Regions from separate parts of the Homo sapiens genome. Here regions 1 and 2 are each linked to region 3. Evidence: promoter capture Hi-C in 16 types of primary human blood cells and fetal thymus (Javierre and others, 2016). All regions are on one chromosome and are shown on one strand. The core of a region is centred on a gene start or on the middle of the fragment in contact, and the rest is flanking DNA. Distances in the headings are between cores, read along the strand shown.

Region 1 (3,587 bases), core at 119-2,618, 2.1 Mb before region 3:
ATACTTCTTATTCTGTTGACATCAGGTTTGACCATTTGGCTTTCCTTGACCAATAAAATGTTAAAGTGACATGTCCCATGTTTGAGCAGATATTTTTCATCCTGTGGTTCTGCCAGTGGCCCTTGACCCTCTGTCATGGAACCAGCATGACTTAGCTATGGCTGGTCCCAGAATAATGGAGCAGAGCTGAAGCCAATCTGTGATAAGCATATAAGTGTGAGATAAATACTGTGCTGTAAGGCACCATGATTTTGGACATTTGTTACCATAGCAGAATATAGTTCAAGCGATGATACTGGCATCACTCAAGGTGCTGTATGATGATGATAAGACTTGGGCATTGTCCTAAAGGAGCTTACAGTCTTGGTAGATGTATTACATTTCCACAGGTTATTGGGAGTTGAGGAAAAGGAGAGTAATATTACATAAGGATCTTTGAAGTTGAGGATCTTTCCTGACCTCCATCTCATCCCTAGGCTGAATCAGTCAATATGTTTTAAACCCTGGGTTTGTGATCCACTACTCACTGTCACAACCTCTTATTGTCCAAAATTTGATAGGCATATTTTCTATGCCCTCATTCAAATCACCTTTTTTAAAACAAACATTTAAGAGGATGAACTTCTACAGAATTGTGATTATAAGCTTCCTTCATAAATCTATTAATCAGCATTTAATAGCAAGCTAAGAATATACCCAGTTAAACTGTTTCTCTATTATCCAGAAAGATATCATGATGTCCTAGATTCTATGTGAATTTTATTTGTGAGCATTTAAATTTCCCATTGTCATGTCTATGTGTGCTTCTCACTCTGCATGGGATTTTAAAGAAACAAAACCTTGGCTGGGATTCCAAAAGGAATCTTTTTTTTTTTCTTCCCCCCGTGAGAAGCTAAGGAATACATACATGGCCAAGGTTCAGAAGAGTTTTGAAACCTTTGAAATAATTACATGTAAAATTTTATGTAAATATACATTGTTCTGGTCCCTAGCTTTCATCATATTATCAAAGGAAATCAAAAACTCCCCTGGAAGGTTGTAAACCCTGTTGAAGAGTGAGACTAGAAGTAGAACAAGGATCTGAAGAGCACCAATATTTAAGGGACAAGTGGAATAGGAGCCCAGAAAGAAGTCAGAGAAGGTGTAGTTAATTAGAATATTGGAGGAGCGGGAGCAAATGTAATGTCAGAGAAACCAGTTCCTTATTAATCAGAGCTTTTGTGGTGTGTTGGGGGGCGGGGGGGGGGGGTGGTAAATCCGGCAGTTCTCATGGCGTTTCATTGTGATTCCTTGGAAATTACCAAATCTGCAGATACATTTAATGTCTTGGGATAATATTTTTCTTGACCTATAAACATGAATTAAAAGTGATTACTTTTCTTTTGCTGTCTCCTTCCTATCTTGGACTTTGATTTTTCTTTTAATCCGTATCCTTCACAGATTAAAAGATCATTCTTTTTTTTCCTTTTTTTTTTCCTTCACCCCCTTCCTCTTCCCCTTCCCACTCCCAGACCGATTCAAGGCAGGAGTAAAACAATTATGTAGGTTATCTGTTAGCAGTTTTATTGCAAGTAAGTAACCTGGCTTTTGTTTGTTGTTGTTGAGAATGTATTTAAGTCTTTTTATTGTCCTTAACACTTTCGGCAAGTCTCTATTTTTATTGAAACAATTTTATTGACATATAGTTGTTATACAATAAATGGCATATATTACAATGTGCAGTTTGTTAAGTTTTGACGTGTTTATCCATGAGACCATCACCACAGTCAAGACACTAAACATATACCCCCAAAAGTTTTCTGATGTCCCTTGATAACCCTCCCCTGCATTCTCTAGGCAACCATTATCTGTTTTCTTTTACTTTACATTGGCATGCATGTCTTAGAATACAATATGCACTCCTTTTGTCTGGCTACTTTCACCCAGCATTATTTGGAGATTCATCCGTGTTGTACCATGCACCAATAGTTACTCTTTCTTATTGGTAAGTAGTATTCCATTGTATGGATATACCACATTTTGTGTATCCATTCACCTTTTGATAATCTATTTGGGTTGATTCCAGTGTTTGACTTTTAAAGTAAAGCTTCTATGAATATGTATGTACATGTCTTTGTATGGACATAAACTTTTCATTTCTCTGGGCATACACCTAGGAGTAGAATGACTGAATCATATGGTAGCTATATGTTCTATACCTACCTAGTTTCTTCTTAAACTGCCAGTGGTTTTCCAAAGTGGCAGTACCATTTTACATTCCCACCAGCATTATGCTATCATTTGGTGCAGTCAGTCTTTTTAATTATTGCCATTCTAATTAGTGAGTAGTGGTGGTTTTAATTTGCATTTCTCTAATGACTGCTGATGGTTAGCATCCTTGCATATGTTTATTTGCCATCCCTTTCTCTTTTGGGAAGCATCTGTTCAAATCTTTTACCCGTTAAAAAAATCTGGTTGGTTGTTTTCTTACTGCATTCTGAGGGTTCTTATGTATAAATCCTTTATCAGATTTATGATTTGCAAATATTTTTCCAGTCTATGGTTTGTCTCTTCATTCTCTTAACAATGTCTTTTGAAGGGCAAAGGTTTTAATTTTGATATCTAATTTATCAGTTCTTTTATGGATTGTACTTTTGGTACTGTATCTAAAAATGTTTTTTTTGCGTAATTCAAGGTCAACAAAGGTTTTCTCCTGTGCTTTCTCCCTGTAGTTTTAGGTTTTCTATCTAAATATAGTGATCCATTTTGAGTTAAGTTTTGAGTATAGAAAACTTTTCTATCTGGATGTTCTTAAGACACCATTTGTTGAAAATTTATCCTTTTTCTATTGAATTCCCTTTTCCCCCTGTGAATAATCAGTTGACTTTATATATGTAGTAGTTCTATTTTGGACTCGATTTTGTTCCATTGAGGTATTTGTTGATCTTGACACCAGTGCTGCACTGCGTTGATTATTCAGTGTTGAAATCATGTAGTCTTCCAATTTTCTTTTTTTCAAAGTTATTTTTGCTAGTCTAGGTATTTTACATTTCCTTATGAATTTTAGAATAAGTGTCAGTTTTTTTAAAAAGCTTGCTTGACGTTTTGATTGGAATTGCAGTGAATCTGTAGGTCAATTTGGAAAGAATTGACATTTTAAAATTATTGAGTCTTCTGACCCATGAACATGGTATAGCACTTGGTTTAGGGCTTCATTAATTTCTCTCAGTAATGTTTGGTAGTTTATAGGATGCAAGTCTTTTATATTTTGGTCTCGTATATGCCTCTGTAAGTTGGGTTCTGCAGAGAAACAATCAATAAGGGTGCGTTGTGTGTGTGTGTGTGTGTGTGTGTGTGTGTGTGTGTGTGTGTAGAGAGAGAGAGACAGAGAGATTGATTTTAAGAAATTGGCTCGTGATTGTGGTGGGTGGCAAGTCCAAAATTCATAGAATTGGCAGGCAGGATGGAACCTTAGGCAGGATTTCTCTTACAGTCTTGAGATAGAATTCCTTCTTCCTTAGGTTATCTGGTTTTGCTCTGAAGGCCTCATTTGATTGGATGAGGCCCACCCATGTTATGGAGGAGAGCTCTTTTTCTTAATGTCAACT
Region 2 (3,834 bases), core at 912-3,411, 2.1 Mb before region 3:
ATGTAAAATTAGAAAGAGACATGTACAATTAGCTCTTGTGAGCCACTATGAGCATGCTACAGCATACCACTGAATCAACCTCAGTTTAAATCAATTATTTGCTAAACATAAGTTGACTTAGGCCTGTTCCACAATATGAAGAACCCCTGCAGTCTTGCTGTGGATTATAACAAGGGAGGAGACTATTATGTGACTCAGCATAAACCTGCCTTAAACCTAAACTGAGGATTTGCAGTAGGGATGAGGAGGACTAGACGACTCAAAATTAAGTCTTCATATTATTTGCTATTTCAGCATTAATTGGAAAATTCAAGGGGACAGTAAGAATGTGAGATTGAAATAAAAATAGTATTTTGCCTCTATAAATAAGATTCAGCCCCAGGCTCCTCTTCTGCAGAAATTCTTATTAAGGACTTGGCTCTCCTCCAAGAAAAATAAGGTAGAAATCATTCAAAACCCTTTACTTCCAAATTATTCCTGATAGGAGCTGCTTGATGAGTATAGCTCTCTAGTTTTGTATGTTTACAATTTTCTAATAAAAGGCTTGTTTAAAATATCCCTGAGCTAGGAAGTAGCTCTTACATACTTAAGTCTTAAGCCATTTTTTTTCAAAGACTATTCCTTTTTTTTTTTTGACTGAATCTCTCTGTAGCACAGGCTGGAGGGCAGTGGTGCAAACACAGCTCACTGCGCCTCCACCTCCCAGGCCCAAGTGATCGTCCTACCTCAGCTTCCCTTGTAGTGGGAACTACAGGCACCCACCACCATGCCCACTAGTTTTTGTATTTTTTTGTAGAGACAGGGTTTTGCATTTTGCCCAGGCTGGTCTCAAATTCCTGGGCTTAAGCAATCCTCCTGCCTGGGCCTCCCAAAGTGCTGGGATTACAGGCGTGAGCTACCGTGCCTAGCCCATGTATTCTTTAAGTACACTGACGTCATCTCTGTGGGTGGTAACACTGGGCAAGTTGCTTACGTGTCCTGAATTTGTTTCTCCAGCGATAGGACAGGATAATAACATCCACCTTACAAAGCGATTACGAAGCTTAAATATCTGGCATACATAAAGTATCTAGCAAAGCACTTGCACATGGTGGCCACTCAATAAACAGTTATTAGCATTCACTAATGAGGATACTGATTAGAATTATCATGATTATTACTGAGCCATGAAACTAGAGGTTTTAAGTTACTATTTAAAATAGTGCAAGACTCTATTCAATAGCCTCAGAGCATTTGGCAGGAATAATTTGGCTGTTGATTTTGAGTGCATCTGACAGGAACAGGAATGACTTTTGCAGCTCCCCTGGATGCATGGATGTTATTGTAATTTAACAAAACTCACCTCTCCAGTTGCTAGTGCATTTTGTCTGTTGGCCTCAAAGCTTGGCTCAAATTGTCAGGCCAATGGAAAGACTGAATGCTTTGCCTCCAGGCAAAATTGTGGCCTGCAGAGGGTGGACCCTGCATTGCATCTCAGCGAGAACGGAAAGCTCACTCAGCATGCTGCAGTCTTTCATACTGATTTTGACATAAAACATCAGGCGGAAATTCCACTTCTGACTCTGCAGTAATTGTGGAGGAGCCAGAGGGCCATCCAAACACAGATGTCTGGCATGACGCTGCACACCTCACGAGGTCACAGGACAGACATTGCAGAGAGATCGTGATGATCATGCATAAAGGAGAGCCCACCATCTTCAGGGCGCAACTCATTCATTCTTCCTCCTTCATTGTTCCGGAGTTACTGTGAATAGTCAAGATTATTGTTTCAGACTTTTTCCAATGTCTTGACTTACAATGGCGAGAAAGATGTTGATGCTGGTAATAATAGTAAAAATGGTGAAAGTTTTTCCAGAGTTTCAAATGATGGAACTCTGCATCCTACTATTGTGTAGCATGTGTGAGTACGTGTGTGTGTGTGTGTGTGTATGTGAGTACGTGAGTGTCTGTGTGATTCAACATATGTATGTGTGTATTGATTCCTCCTGAGTAGCCCCCCCCAACCCTTTTTTTTTTTAACTAAGTATGTCAGCTTCTGGAACTGCACATAACAGTTTTCCAGCAGTGACACTCATGCATAGCACAGCCATCAAAGACCTGGAAGCCATGTAATACAGCTGACCTTTGAACTAGGGGAACAACCCCTGTATGCGCAGTCAAAACTCCCAAGCATAACTTTTGAATCCCCAAAAACATAACCATTAGTAGCCTACTGTTAACCAGAAGCCTTACTGATAACATAAACAGTCGATTAACCCATATTTTGTTATATGTATTATATACTGTGTTCTTATAATAAAGTAAGCCAGAGAAAATAACATTAATGAAAAAATCGTAAGGAAGAGAAAATATATTTCCTCTTCATTAAGTGGAAGTGGATCATCATAAAGCTCTCCATCCTCATCATCTTCATGTTGAGTAGGATGAGGAAGAGGAGAAAGAGGAGAGGTTGGTTGTACTGTCAGCAATGGCAGAGGCAGAAGAAAATCCAAGTATAGCAGCTCAACGAAGTTCAAACCGGGTGGTTCAAGGGTCAACTGTAAAGACTACTAGAGGCAGAGGCTCACTTAATTGCATGTTCAGAAATTAAGAGTTTAACATTATTAGAATATGCAAAGGCATACAGAGTGACATAATGGACTTTATATCACTTTATATCATTTATATATAATGGACTCAGAAGCAAGAGGGTGGGAGTGGGGAGCCAGGGATAAAAACACTACACATTAGGTACAATGTACACTACTTGGGTGATGGGAGCACTGAAATCTCAGAATTCATCACTATATAACTCATCCATGTAGCCAAAAATGACTTGTATCCTAAAAGCTATTGAAAAAAAAGAATTTAAAATTGTTAGTATGAGCAGCTCCACAAATTTGGGGTGCAAATATGGTCATATTATTTACTTTTCCAATTAATTCATTGAGTAAAGCTTGCTGCTATAACAACAACAAACAAACAAATTTTCAGTTATTTCTCGCTCATATAACCATCTAAATTAGATGTTTCTGGTTGGAGGGCAGCTTTCCTCTACAGAATGATCCAGGGCTCAAAGCATAATTATACTCTTTTCTGGCCAGTGGGGTCTTGCACCCACTCTACTAAGGTAGCTTTCCCTAGGGCTCCCAGGAGACTCCTAACAAAGCCAACTTAACTTTCTGTTACCTCTTCTGATAACGCCAGGAGGAAAAAAATTATGTAAAAGCTTTATATTCACTGAGGCATCCTACTATATTGAATTGTCTGAAATGAAAGAACATTTCATCTCCAGATTTTAATAGATGATTGTCTATGAAATAAAGAGGATTTAGAGGCCAGGCACGGTGGGTCATGCCTGTAATACCAGCACTTTGGGAGGCTGAGGCAGGCAAATCACTTGAGGTCAAGAGTTCGAGACCAGCATGGCCAACATGGTGAAACCCCATCTCTACTAAAAATACAAAATTAACCAGACATGGTGGCAGGCACCTGTAATCCCAGCTACTCAGGAGGCTGAGGTAGGAGAAGTGCTTGAACCCTGGAGGTGGAGGTGGCAGTGAGCCGAGATCGTGCCACTACACTCCAGCCTGGGCAACAGAGCCAGATTCCATCTCTAAAAAAGAGGATATAGAGGACATCTTCATATTATAAAATGGCATAAACTGAAAAAAACATAAACATAAGCTGATATTTTAAAGAAATCAGTTAATGGTGTTTCTAAGATTTGTAGTTGGTGCTCAATACATTTATAGAACCAGGCTTTTGAATCATGCCTGAAACTTAGCAGCTCAATTGTCATTTTTTAGAATAAATGAATGGTAATGACATCAGTCTAATAAGCATTTTGAAACA
Region 3 (3,908 bases), core at 379-2,878:
AATGTGACTATATTCTACAGGAGTCACTAAAGCAGCAGAGAGTCAGCAATGACAGATGGCTCAGGAAGTGACCTGTGTTAGGACTATGCATCTGCTATGTGTTGCTGTGTAACAAATTACCTCAAAACGTGGTGGCTTGAAATACCATTTGTCACTTCCCAGTTTGCGTGGGCCAGGGAGCTGGGCAGGGCTAGCCTGGGTTGTCTGCTTCTGGGTCTTTCCCAGTTCCAATCGAGCATTAGATGGGGCTGCAGTCAGCTCAAGGCTCAACTGGAGAAGGATCCACTTCCAAGCTCACACACTTGGTTTTTGGCTGGATTCCTGGCTGTTGGATGGAGCATCAGACCCTTACTGGCTTTTGAGACCACTCTTGATTCCTTGACACATGGGCTTCTCCACCATGGCAGCTTGCTTCATCAAAGCAGGCAAGCAAGAAAGTAATAGAGTCCAACAAGATGGAAGCCTCATCATGGTAGTGGAAACTCAGCACCTTTGCCTTACTTTATTTACAAGGAGCATGTCAGCAGCCTCAGTCTACACTCAAGGGATGGAGAATAGACATGAAGTTCCAGAGACAGAGAACTTTGAAATTAGATGGGCCCTCCTCCTGACAGTTCCTGCTGCCTAGAACATGTTCTACAGAAGATCCTGCCATGTGGCAGAACCTCAGGGGGAAAGGGAACCCCAGGAAAGGATGAGATTAACTTTTCCGCCAGCCGGACCAACTGGTGCCTCAGAAGAGAACTTGATTTAAGAAAACAAATAAAGAATACACCTTGCACATCTGTGCTGAGGACTCGATTATTTCTCATTTCTTTTATTTCATTTAATTCTTCAAGCCATCATATGACATATATATTTTTATGTTTATAATTGAGAAAACTGCAACTCAGAGGGGTAAGTCACAAATCTGAGGTCACACAGCTAGGATGGTAGACAGGTTGAATTTCTGTCTTGTGACCCCAGAATCCGCACTCTTTCCACTATGCAGTGGTACCTCAATGTTGCTGGAATATATATTTGAATGTACATTTCTTTTATCACTTACAGTAGTACAGATGTGTATGAACCCATAAACACCATCAAGTCTTTGAGCTCTACTATAATGTAAATGTAAAATGCCATCTATAGAGTTTTTTGTGAAGTCCAACCTTCATTAGATAAACCTATTGCCTCTATAGAAATTTTCATAAGATCAAGCTCTTGCTATTTAATAGTATTCTGAATTTAATAGCATCAGTGCATTATCCTCAATAAATTTAAGTGATTTGGACAAAGATCACTACTCTGCACTACTTATAACTGAATGTGGCCATATGATGAGCAAGAAATGTCAGTTCGCTGAGTCTTTCTCACGTTCTCGCAGCCAAAGGTGACAAGTTAGCTCAGAAAACCACCCCTCCAGTGACCAGGGTGTAACCAGCTGGCCTGACACATGGGCTGCACATTCCCTGCTGCTGGCCCAGGAAACTCTCTGAAATCTTCAGCACACTCCTCAGTGTGAATGCCACTGATGTGAGCCCAACAGGAAGTGTGACCTCATTCTGCTTCTTTGCCTCTGGTTACGCAGGCTGTTTTCAAAAGAAAACAAGAGAAGTTGTAAGACTGACTTTCCCAAGAACTATACACTCATTTATACCAGGAAACAGACAAGAGAACAAGAGGCTGCCGAAGACAAAACTTCTCTGCAAGCACCTGTGCACAGCAATGTGCGTGGGCATCTGTGAGAAGAAGGTAGGGTGGGATTCCCTTTATTAAGAGACTTCTGCACCTGTTGACATTCAGACATTTTTCAGCCGAGGAACTGCTCAGTCCTCAATTTTTCCACTGTCAACCACAGGAAGCTTCGTATTTCAGTAATAATTTTGTCCTTTGTCAATTGGAAGAAGAGGCTGGGAACTCCCTTTGGAAGGAACACGTATGCACACATTATTTTTCAGAATAGATGTGTCGCTTTGATGGAACTGGCAGATTCTGTTTCTTGAAAAGTTTTAGATCTGTAACTGAAGGGCTTTTTTTTTTCCTACTGTTACTAATTTTCTATTGAATGTCAGTGTACTGCCTGTAGATTCTTCTAAGCACTTGTGAGATAGAGCAATAAGACCTTCTTTTGCTGCAGGATTTATAGGCTTAAAATTAAGCTTAATACTTGGGGAACACTAAAATAAGGTAATTTGGGCTGGGCATACCCGTACAATATTGATCAAAAATGAAAAGAACAAGTAACATACTAATATATTACATTACACTGGGATTATTTTATATCCCAAACAAATGAAATTTGTAAATGTGTGCTTTGATTTAGAAATCTTCCAAGGAAGGCCAGAAAGTTCTCCTGACATCTTTACAGGTCTCTATAAACCAGGTTTATATTTTCCTAATAGGGTTTATATATAATTTATTGAAATATTCAACTTGAAGCTGTAGAATTAGCCTGGTTTGATTGATTGAATTACAGCTACAAAAACAATCCATTACTAGTTCTCATGTTACAAAATGTGGCCATAAGTGGTGAATCAGAAAATAATTTACTCCTACCTTATAAAGCGATTAGGATAGTGATACTATATACAAAGTTTCATAGTCAACAGAAGTTGGTTCTATTTGATGAACAGTAAATGATCAAAGTTTGCATAATTTACATACTTTGATATGTTTTTAATTAGTAATTGAGAAATTAAATCATGTCTTCATGGGAACTAAGTTCTAAAATCTTCCCAATGGTATGCTATCTTTAGTGCAACATTACTTATGCTGTTTAGGAATGTCCAGGCTGATAAAAACTATTAAAATCACTCTCTGTGACTACCTGTCAATGGTTCAAGTTGTTGGGAAAAAGACAGACACCAATCTCCAAGCACTGTTTGAAACTTGATAATGAAGTTGACTTGTGTCAGATGATTAAAATACACGTAAGTTTGTTTTGGGGCTAAATGACTGTTAGAACCAGTCATTTTATTAAGATTTCTTAATCAAATACCTCACTTTCATTATTTTCTTTGGATTACAAATCAACCTTTTTAAGTCTAGATTTTCCAAATAAAGTGTGGTTCTTATTTACAGAAAAATGTTATTGAGATGCACTGAGTGAGGCAATGGAAAATGTTCAGTCATAGAGGCAGACACAACTTTAGAGGGGTTGTGTCTTCAGTCTGGTCTCCTACCTTCAATTCTGTATCTCTGTATTATTTCAGTAAACAAATCTGACTAGTGCAATTAGTAGATGCCATCTGTTTTGGCATAATTTTTCTATTTTTAATATATAGTCCACCTTTTTTTTAACATCTTTTGCAGAGAATCTGTGAAGTTTGAGCAAGCGGCCTTCCCAAGATGTACCGAATATCTCAACTGATGTCAACACCAGTAGCAAGTAAATGTAGAAGAACTGTGATACGCAATTATCTTTTGAACGATTAGACTCCTTTTAGCAATTTCCTTGCTTTGATTTTGCTGATACTCAGACCATTAACCATCTGTCAGTAGCTTGTGCTTCTTAAATGCCAGTGTTCACTTTGGCAATGATTTTAACTTCATTTTTTTCCTTGAAAGAAATGTGGTATTTTTCCTTCTAGTAGAAAAAAAAAAATCACCGTTTTTTTTTAGATGCCTGTGCATAAATGTGAAAGGAGATTGTTTATCAGCTACTATTAAGATGCAAAACTGTTTGTATATAAAAAATGCTGAATGATTTTGATAGCTACTTGCAGAAAATAAGAGCGCTGTTAAAACGGTAGTGGTTTCAAGTTTCTTCCTTCCTCTTGTTATTTTCTCCCAAAACCCCACTTCTAACTCTCCCTCACACACCCACAGTTTTCTCCCTACAAATCAACCAGCCCAATCTGAAAGTCTAAATTCCTTTCTTTGTCCTAGATACTAATTGTCCATAATGGAATCAAATTTCACTAGCT

Evidence for each region. Contacts are between HindIII fragments. The CHiCAGO score rates a contact against its expected background, and 5 or more counts as called.
Region 1: a fragment that was not itself captured here is called in contact with the fragment with the promoter of TMEM71 in region 3 in 1 of 17 cell types (total B cells); the score reaches 5.8 in total B cells.
Region 2: a fragment that was not itself captured here is called in contact with the fragment with the promoter of TMEM71 in region 3 in 2 of 17 cell types (non-activated CD4 T cells and monocytes); the score reaches 6.4 in non-activated CD4 T cells.

The regions. Positions count from the first base shown.
Region 1 is chr8:134,817,159-134,820,745 of GRCh38, reverse strand. It overlaps a transcript of ZFAT not described here. Among named protein-coding and RNA genes, the nearest start is that of MIR30D, 14 kb to the right of the region's middle. The HindIII fragment of the contact is 1,441 bases long and covers 648-2,088 here.
Region 2 is chr8:134,835,818-134,839,651 of GRCh38, reverse strand. It overlaps NCRNA00250 (non-protein coding RNA 250), which reads right to left and starts at 1,583. Exons shown (of 3, transcript NR_126028.1): 1 at 1,343-1,583. The HindIII fragment of the contact is 1,553 bases long and covers 1,385-2,937 here.
Region 3 is chr8:132,758,302-132,762,209 of GRCh38, reverse strand. It overlaps TMEM71 (transmembrane protein 71), which reads left to right and starts at 1,628. Exons shown (of 10, transcript NM_001382403.1): 1 at 1,628-1,734; 2 at 3,295-3,370. The coding sequence starts at 3,331. The HindIII fragment of the contact is 4,740 bases long and covers 1-1,846 here.